Linked DNA regions of Homo sapiens: region 2 is linked to region 1. Evidence: promoter capture Hi-C in 16 types of primary human blood cells and fetal thymus (Javierre and others, 2016). All regions are on one chromosome and are shown on one strand. The core of a region is centred on a gene start or on the middle of the fragment in contact, and the rest is flanking DNA. Distances in the headings are between cores, read along the strand shown.

Evidence for each region. The method cuts DNA at HindIII sites, captures the fragments that hold promoters and counts their contacts. A CHiCAGO score of 5 or more calls a contact.
Region 2: a fragment that was not itself captured here is called in contact with the fragment with the promoter of C21orf58 in region 1 in 1 of 17 cell types (naive CD8 T cells); the score reaches 5.2 in naive CD8 T cells.

What each region holds. Positions count from the first base shown.
Region 1 is chr21:46,321,326-46,325,796 of GRCh38, reverse strand. It overlaps C21orf58 (chromosome 21 open reading frame 58), which reads left to right and starts at 1,927. Exons shown (of 8, transcript NM_058180.5): 1 at 1,927-3,158. The coding sequence starts at 3,059. It overlaps PCNT (pericentrin), which reads right to left and starts at 1,641. Exons shown (of 47, transcript NM_006031.6): 1 at 1,515-1,641. The coding sequence starts at 1,568. RefSeq lists silencers at 849-1,308, 1,579-1,908, 4,390-4,471 and an enhancer at 2,259-2,398. The HindIII fragment of the contact is 15,185 bases long and covers 1-2,521 here.
Region 2 is chr21:46,658,891-46,663,361 of GRCh38, reverse strand. It overlaps PRMT2 (protein arginine methyltransferase 2), which reads right to left. Exons shown (of 12, transcript NM_206962.4): 8 at 4,442-4,471; 9 at 2,400-2,529; 10 at 1,426-1,562. Among named protein-coding and RNA genes, the nearest start is that of PRMT2, 25 kb to the right of the region's middle. RefSeq lists an enhancer at 1,807-1,856 and a silencer at 1,957-2,066. The HindIII fragment of the contact is 3,077 bases long and covers 257-3,333 here.

The sequences.
Region 1 (4,471 bases), core at 678-3,177:
CAGCCTAGCTCTGCTCAGTCCTCAAATCCGAGAGTTTGAGACTATGTGCGAGCCTCATCTCCCGCTAACGTCTTACTCAAGAGGTATGCGATCGATCCCACATCAGCCTTTCACGGGGAGACATCTGTTCCCTCAAAAGACAACTGTGGCCACAAAAACAAACGCATGGAACACACATTTGTGTAAATGATAACACAAGTACACAAGCTCATGGACCCAGAAAAATTACACAAGGCCATTTACACAAGAAAATGGTCTCTCAAGGAAATATTTCCTTCAAAGTCAACCTCATGTCGTTTATTTTCATGTCCTCCTCCACCACACCTATCCATGTCGGGATATAGCACAGACCTGGTCTGCGGCCTGCGTCGCCCTACAGGCGGCGTCTTGTCCCTCCCTCCCCCCTCCACCCTCCTGGGAGCTCTGCTCCTGTTCGCAGCTCCCTGCAGGCTCCGGGCTCCCCTTCCCCTCCTGCCCGCCTCAGCCCTTCCCCGGCCTAGCCCCGCGTCCCCTGTCCGCCGTGCCCGGGAGCCCCGCTCTTCCCCAGCACCCCAGCCAGAACATCCTGGGGGGGAGCGGCGCGCACCTCGCAGAGGCCGGCCTGCTCCCGCGGTTCCGCCTCGCGCTTTCGGGACTCCCTTTCTCCTGCCCCCGAGTCATGGGCTCTGCGCGCTTTATTCCCACGAAACCTAGGACAGTGGCCATCAAACCGAGCGCTTTTTCACGGAGAAACCCGGGGCGGGAGAAAGACGGGAGCGCGTCCCTTGAAGGCGCCCGGCGCCAGCGCCGCGTGGGTTCCCGGCAGCGTACGCCAGGCCCGGACGGGCAGGACGCGAGCCCAAGGGCGCGGGAAGAAGACGGCGGCCGGGAGCGCCGCGGGGGCCTTTCACACAGTAAGGACTGCAACGCCGCGAGAAACGCGCGGGGAAAGCATCTCCGACGGACGAGGCGAAGGCGCACCCTGGGGAGGCGCTGCAGGCCACCCGCGCCACGCCCCCGGCCCCGGCCGCGCAGGAAACTGGCCCTAGACCAAGCAGCCACCCGAATACCGGCCGCCCGCCCCAGGCCACCCGGTCCCGGAGGACGCGGGAGCCACTGGAAGATCCAGCCTGGGGTCCAGCGCCTGCCGCGCCCCACCCCCTCCGTGCAGCCACGCCACGCCCCTGTAGCCCCGCCCTGCAGCCACACCCCGCCCCGGCGTGCACCGCGCCCAGCCCGCGCCCCACCCCCCCCGACGCAGGCGCAGCCCCGCCCCGGCCCGCCCGAGAGGCGCCGCGCGTCCCGGCCGCTGATTGGCTGTGGCCGCGGCGGGGGCGGGACCTGGCGGAGAGCGGCGGATTCAAGATGGCGGCGGCCAGGAGGCGGCTTCCAGCGGAGCCGGCGGGAAAAAGCGAGACCTCCGCGGCGGCTTCCGCCGGACCGCGTCCTCTCCTGGCAGGGGGCGGTGGCGGGCACCGGAGCCGCCCTTAGGACTTCACGCCAGAGCAGCTAGAGAAGAAGCCCCTAATGTTTACCTTCGTCCTCCCGGCCTCCACCTTTCTGCGCCGCTGCTCTTGCTCAACTTCCATCTCCCTCAGACTCCGCGCGGGCCGCCCGGCGGTGACGGGGCTGACACAGAGCAGCCTTCGCTCTATTTACACTCCCTCCCCCGCGCTTGGGCTCGCCCTCCCCCCGCGACAACTGTCACGCAGCCGCGGCCCCGCCCCCGACACGCGCCGCCAATCAGGGGGCTGCGTTTCCGGTCTCGCGCACGCGCGCTCTGGGCGGTGCAGCCTGGGCGGAGCCCCGCCCTTTACGCTCGCCGGCCACAGATTGGTGCGCTCACGTACCCGCCTCCTACGGCAGGACCAGTAAGCGGAAAGCGGAGGCCTGGCGCCCGCTGTGATTGGCCGATTTTAAAATCCCCTGCCAGGCTGGCCGAGCGGCAAAAAGTTCGCGCTGCTGGTCCCGCGCGGGCGGCCCCTGGGCTTTGTGTCCACCAGGACAGCGGGCCGGGCTCCCTGCAGGCGCGGGCGGCGCCGAACGGTGCTCAGCAACCACCCGGACAGGGCCAGGCCGTTTTCTCCCGCTCAGGCATTAGTCGTTGGCTGTGGGCCGCCGCGGGAAGTTGAGGCCTACCACGGAGGAGGCTGCTGAGGTGGATCTCAGGGGATCCGCAAGGGCTCCCTCACCCTTGCCGGGACCCTGGGAACCCGAAACAAAATCCTACGCCACCAGCCCGCCGAATGCGCCCCCTCGGCCGGGGGTCCTGGGTCTTCAGAGAAGAACTCGGCCGAATGCGGTCAGAAAGCCCGCGAACCGCCTGGACCTGCAGGCCCCGCCGCTTGGAGCTCCCGCCTTTCCCGACCGAGCCCGTGTCTGCTCGTGTGTCTCACTGATGTCTTAGGTCTCAAAAAAAAAAGAAAAGAAAAGGTTTTTAGTAGACAGAAGAGAAATGGGGCCGTGGGTTCGTGGTCCCAGGGGGAAACTGACGTCGCATGAGGTCGTCGTCCCTCAGCTTGAGCTCAGCGGAACATAAGCTTGCAGAGGTGGAAACCACGGAAGGTTTGGGTGTCTTGGAGCTCTCTGGACACCGAAGCCCGGACACAGTCCCGGGGTCCGCACCGCCTGTGACCTGTGGCGGGACCGCCGGGGTGGGCGTTTTCTCAGCTGGCGCGCGCGTAGGTGGAACTTGGGAAACTAACTGGAGCGAAGTGGCAAAAAACCAAGACAGGGCCGGTGACCTCGCGCAGGCCGTCCTTAACTGTGGAGTATTCCTTCAGCTAACCCCTTTATTTCATGTGTCCAAGTCTGGTTTCTGGGTTTCTTTGTAGTCCTCCGGGCCTGTTCGTGCGCCTTCACTTGCAAAAGGTTCGTCGTGGAGGGCCGTGTGCTTGTTTGCAGCAGTAACGATGCCCTTCCCGAGCGTGCTGGAGTGGCTCCTCGCTGACGCAAGCTCACCTTGCAGCCTCCTCAGCAACTGCAACTTAAACGCGCCCTCAGGAAGCCCTGGAATCTCGCTCAGAATTTTTTTTCTTTTTTTGAGACAGTCTCGCTGCGACGCCCAGGCTATAGCGCAATGGCGCGATCTCGGCTCCCTGCAACCTCCCTCAGGAAGCCGTGGAAGCTCGACCGCCAGAAACTTCCTTCTCCTGACTCAGGCCACAGTCTTCTGTGTGGTGAGCGGGGTGTCCAGCGGTCTCCTGGTTCCCAGACTCGGAATTGGGTGGTTTGAGCAAACTCTGGGCAGTGGGCTCATTAGAGCAGGGGCCAGGCAGGCAACACAGCCAAGCGAGCAGGGGCTGCACCCACAGGATCACACTTTCCAGGAACAGAGACCCAGACCGCGCCTGAATCTCACAACTGTTACGTGTTACAATACATTTACAACTGTGGGACTGAGGGGATGTGCCCAGGTTTGCCTAGACTGTGTTCCTCAGAACCCCAGAGTCGTTTCTGTGGACATCCTAGAGAGGTTCTGCTAATGTTGGACTTGGGTCTTATTTCAGTTCTTTTTTCTTTTCTTTTTTATAGGCAGGGTCTCAGTCTGTCACACAGGCTAGAGTGCAGTGGTGAGACCACCGCTCATTGCAGCCTCAACTTCCCCGGGCTCAGGTGATTCTCCATGTCAGCCTCCTGAGCAGCTGGAATTACAGGCACACCACCATGCCCAGCTAATTTTTGTATTTTTAGTAGACACAGGGTCTCACTGTGTTGCCCAGGCTGGTCTTGAACTCCTGGGCTCAAGTGATCCACCTGCCTTGGCCTCTCAAAGTGCTGGAGTTACAGGCATGAGCAACCTCGCCCAGCCTCAATTCATTTTAAACTATTAAAAAGCTGTCAAGGCCAGGCAACCACTGCACTCCAACCTGGGTGACAGACTGAGACCCTAACTCAAAAAAAAAAAAAAAAAAAAGCTGCCCAGATAAATTTTGTAGATACTCACCCTCAAGGAGGGAAACGTAACTCCCCTCTCCTTAAGTGTAGACCACACATAGCCACTTCCTCCCAAAGAGTGCAATAAAGAAAAGGAGGGAAAGAGCCACTTTATTGTGGAGAAAACTGGCAGACTCCACCTCAGCCAAGTGACGCAGGTCAGCCTCACAGTTATAGTCGAGGTGACAGTGTGTGTCCCTGATGTGATGGGGTGACAGTGGCACTTCACCCCTAGATGCTTCCTTTCTGTAACCTGCAGTCCCAGTCTAACCAGGAGATAATAGACACATTTTAATTGAGGGACATTCTTCAAAATATCTGCCCAGTACTCTTCGAAACTGTCAAGGTCATCAAAAACGAGGAAAGTCTGAGAAGGAGCCTAAAGACACATAACTCAATGTAATGGGGTGTTCTGATGGATACCACATTAGGGACATGAGGCAAACCTAAGGAAACTGTCAAAGTGTGGACTTCAGTTACTTGTGTCTCAATATTGGTTCATTAATCATAACAAATGGGCCAGGTGCACTGGCTTTCACTCAAAAATTAGCTGGGC
Region 2 (4,471 bases), core at 546-3,045, 340 kb before region 1:
GACCTGGAGGCTGAGCTAGGGCAGTCTCCACATGGCCCTCGGGGCGCTGACTCAGGCTCGCACTGGCTCTCGCCCCCAACAGCACCCACACAGCCGGCAGTCCACCCTGAGGGCCTGGGGACACAAAGCTTGGCTTTTCAGGCTAACTCAGGGAACATATACACCCCCAGCCCTGTGATCTAAAGGGACTCTATGGGATACACTGGGATCAAAGTTACGCTAGTGAGACAGATCCTGCCAATGCCAAACACAAGCTTGCTCCTGAGACCACTCAGATTCCAGGAGGTGTGGACGGCTCACCCTGGGTGGCCCAGAGGATGCGGGAGCTCAGGGGACACACAGCTGCACTAAAGGTCCCGTGTGGTGTCGACTCCCCGGCCCGCCAGGAGGACGGCTGTGCAACCCCTTCCTGCACCCTTGCCTAAGCTGCAGAGGCTGGTGATCTAGCTCCTGCTGTTAAACTGTGGTGTACACAGACAGAATCAGGTCCAAGGAGTCGCTTCTGTGAAGGTTACAAGGTGAGGACAACTGTCACATTTGGGGGGAAATAGTAAAACGCTATGATTCTGCACTGGGTTGCGTTGGAAACATCTCTAAGTTCCTCAGGCTCTGTCTTCCCTCAAACTCCCACTGTCCACGGTGGGGCCAGCAGTGAAGTGGGGGGCTCCTCAGGTCTCCAGTTTTTCCCTGACTCTGGTCACACCCCTCACCCCAGCCTGTGCCCCAGGTCACTGCCCCCTCCACGCCCCCAGACTCGGGGATGGGTATAACTGGCCTCCAAGCTGCCCACCTCCACCCGGTGATGGCACTGGAGGGGCCACCACAGGACTCTTGTGATGGGGACCACATGCCAGGCCAGGCCATCAACCCCGCACCTCTGCGACCTCCCTGGAGCCGGGGTCCCCTCGCGGGGCCACCACGCTGGGAAGTCAGCGGGGCAGGTGCCAGAGCGGGGTAGCCAACCCCACCCAAAGGGAAGGCCTGCAGGGCCCTGAAGGCAGCTCCACTGCCACACATGCCCAGGGTGCTGGCGGGGAAATGTGTCCCAAAAAACAGGCACCTCCAAAAACGTCAGGTGAACCCCGACGCCCCGTGGAGGCGCTTTGGGTCAGACCATGAAGAGCTGTGGTGCTCCTCGCGGGGTGGAAGACAGGGAGCTCCTCCCGTTGGGGCTGTTGTCGGAGGGACGCCCAGGCTGGGCCCAGAGTGGTGGCGAGACCCGGAAGGGGGCACACAGGCTGCGGTGTCTACACCACCCGTGCCCCCATGCGCGCCGCCCCCACCCCACTGCCCGCGCCCCCACGTGCCCCACCCCCCCACGACCGCCACGCCGCGTCCCACCCCCTCCTGCGCGCCCCATCCCCGCACCCCGCCTACTCCCCTGCCCCCCACCCCGCACCCCGTGCCCGCGCCCCGCACACTCACGGGTGGAAGGGCCCGGTGCTGAGCACCTGCGGCGGCTGCCCCTCCTGCAGGCTCTGGAAGTGGACGCTAAACCAGGCCGTGAAGCCGTGCAGGGTCCCCGCCTTCCTGATGTCGAAGCGCAGCTCGCCCCTCAGGGTCTGGGTCAAGCAGATGACAAGGCACGCGTGGGCACCGCGTGGCACCGCAGGGCCCGGGTTGGGGCGGCCCCCTCCACGCGCCCCGCGCAGACGCTGAATGCGTCAGGAACCGTAGAAAAGCCCCCCAGCCTGGGGAAACCACCCCCAAAACCCGCATCGTGAGTTCAGAGGCTTCAGTCAGAAACGTTTCAAGCATCTGAGCTTCTTGCGCCCAATTTTCTACCCCAGATTCTGCGGAATCTTTTCGGCGCTCAGCTCTTCCAGTTAAGGAGTTGGAGAGCTCCAGGCTGGGCCTTTCCACAGCAGAACGAACTAAAAACCAAAGCGCGCCGGCGCCACCGCGCCCGCCCCATCTCCAGACGCGGCGCCAGCTGGGGCGCCAGGCAGGGCGGGGGCGCGGGGAAACCGCCCAGAGCCCACGAGCGCCACCGCGCGGCCACAGACAGGGATTCACGGAGGGAATTCTAACGATTCTGTCATGAAGAGTGGCTTAAAATACTTGAAAAAAACTGTAATGCAAATACCATAATGAAACGAAATATAATTTATTTGATTTTGAAGATGCTGAGAATATTAAACATAAATCTAAAATGAAGACGCTGGAGACATAAAATGGTGTACAATATGAAAGAATCAAAATAGAACGTAAAAAAGAAAAAAGACTGGAAAAAATCAGTAGCAAACGTTTTATAAATTCACTTATTTGCATAATAAAATAATTAGTTATTCACTCACACCCCCAGCACTCACTGAAGGTTTTTGATAAGCCAGGCTCTGGTCTGAGTGTTTCGTGGTCACTGATTATCGAATGTAAGGAGCAATTCATCTTTTTCTCACCTCTAGATCAGAAATTTGCACGGTTCTCATGTCCAACTGCAATATAGTGCACGGTTCAGAGAGACAGTCTTCTGGTTTCAAAATGTGGTTATACTTGGGCTTTGAAAAAAACTCCTTAACTGCTAAAGATCTAGGGGAAAAGGTCAAAGCGACTGTTGAGAGTCATTGCAAACATCTTAGGCTTCAAAACACACACGTGGGACCGCGGTGAGTGCTCTCCCTTCTGTGTCACCAGGATGCTAAGCCACTATCTGGGGCCCTGGAACCCCAGAGCAGCCCTCAGGCCTCCACAGGCCCTGGGTGCCTCCCGCTCTGAGAAGACCCAGACTCTACCCAGGCATCCAGAGACTTCCTGAGCCTGACCTGGAGGCATTAAGGAGCCTGCCAGTCACTGGGCGCTTCCCTGTGAGGTCTCATTCATGGGATCTGAGCACACGGAAACCAACGCTCACCCCTCATAACCCAGAGGACAAGGGGAGTTGCAGCGTGTCTTGCCTAGTTTTAGAATGTATTTGATTTCAAAATCTTTTGTGGATCTTCTATTAACAGTAAATGAACGCGGTATTCCTGCTGTAGGTTACTCTATAATAAACGAAAGGAACTAGAAGGGCTGAGGTGGCCTGAGTGAGTCTGAGTTTCAGGAGAAATACTTGCTCTGTTGCTACACAAATTCAACACAGAAACAGACACTAGACGCCGCATGGCCCCTGCATGTCACCGTTTGCCAACCCCCATCACTGGCTGCACTAGGCTTGTAAGTCACCGATTATTTACCACAGAAATGTTGTAAAAAATAAGCAAAGCAGTAACTTCTGAAATAGCAAATAAAAGTGAATGTTTTAATAAAGATTCCACTATATTTACACATTTATTTTTCTGATAAAAAATTACAAATTTAAAAATTGGAAACTATGGACAAGTATAAAGAAAAGCTTAAATTCCCCATATGCCTGTCTTAGCATTGTGATATACTTATTTTTATCCCCCAGACATATTTATATAAATTTATTTATGCAAGCAAACATCCATTCTGTATACACGGTTTATTCTGCCAAGCTTTACTGTCTCTTAAACCCTTTCTAAATATCATTACATATCCCTAAAAACCTATGGTTTCTTTTTTAACAGACACACAGCAGTGCTCCACCAGATGGATATACAGCAATTCAATCACGTTCCTCTGGACGGCCACTGGCTTCCAGTGCCGGGAGGAACACTCAGGTGGGAGGCTCTGGCAGTGACTGGGGTGGGCAGCCTGATGCCAACCTCTAAGGCCCTGGCAGCCACACCTCCCTGCCACTGCCAGGCAAGCCTGGGCTACTATTTTAATTTACTCTTTGCTTGTCTGGTAGGGAAAACAGCATGTATTTTAATTCGCATTTTAACTACTAACAACATTATAATTTTTCATATATTTATTGGTAATTTTATTTATTTTTTGCGGTTTGCCTGTTCACATGATTGGGCTGCAATTCCATCTGGCTAGTCATCTCTTTCTAATTGATTCCAAGACCTGACAGCACGTGATTTCTCTAATTACTTGTTTGCTTTTACAATCGTGTTTTTGCTGATTTCTGCCACATAGACTGCCAGATTCTATCTAGCCCAGGGTCCATTCCATCCATTGTTGCTGCTCATTTCTCCACCTAAGATGGTGCACACAGGCCCCCATGGATGTCTGTCGCTGACGCTGATTCCATGCAGAATTAAGTTTTCACGTATGGCGTGAGAGAACAAGGGCTAATCAACTGCTCCAGAATAATTTGCTGACTTGGCCCTCACTCCCTCCTAATCGTAATGCCACCTTTTTCACATACGAAAATTTTTGTTCCTTGCATTCTACCCTGCTCTGCCCATCTGTCTTGTTATAGCACCATACTGCTTTAATTACTCCAATGCTACAACAGATTGTCCTATCTGGGTGCACAGGTACCCTCATTTATCCAACCGTCGTATGGGATCTCCCAGGGCCTTGGCCCACCTGCAGACTGTGGACCAGGAGGCCCCACAAGACGGTGCCAGTCCCAGCTGTGGACACTTACTTCAGAGCGCTGAGGTTGAACTCGTACGCG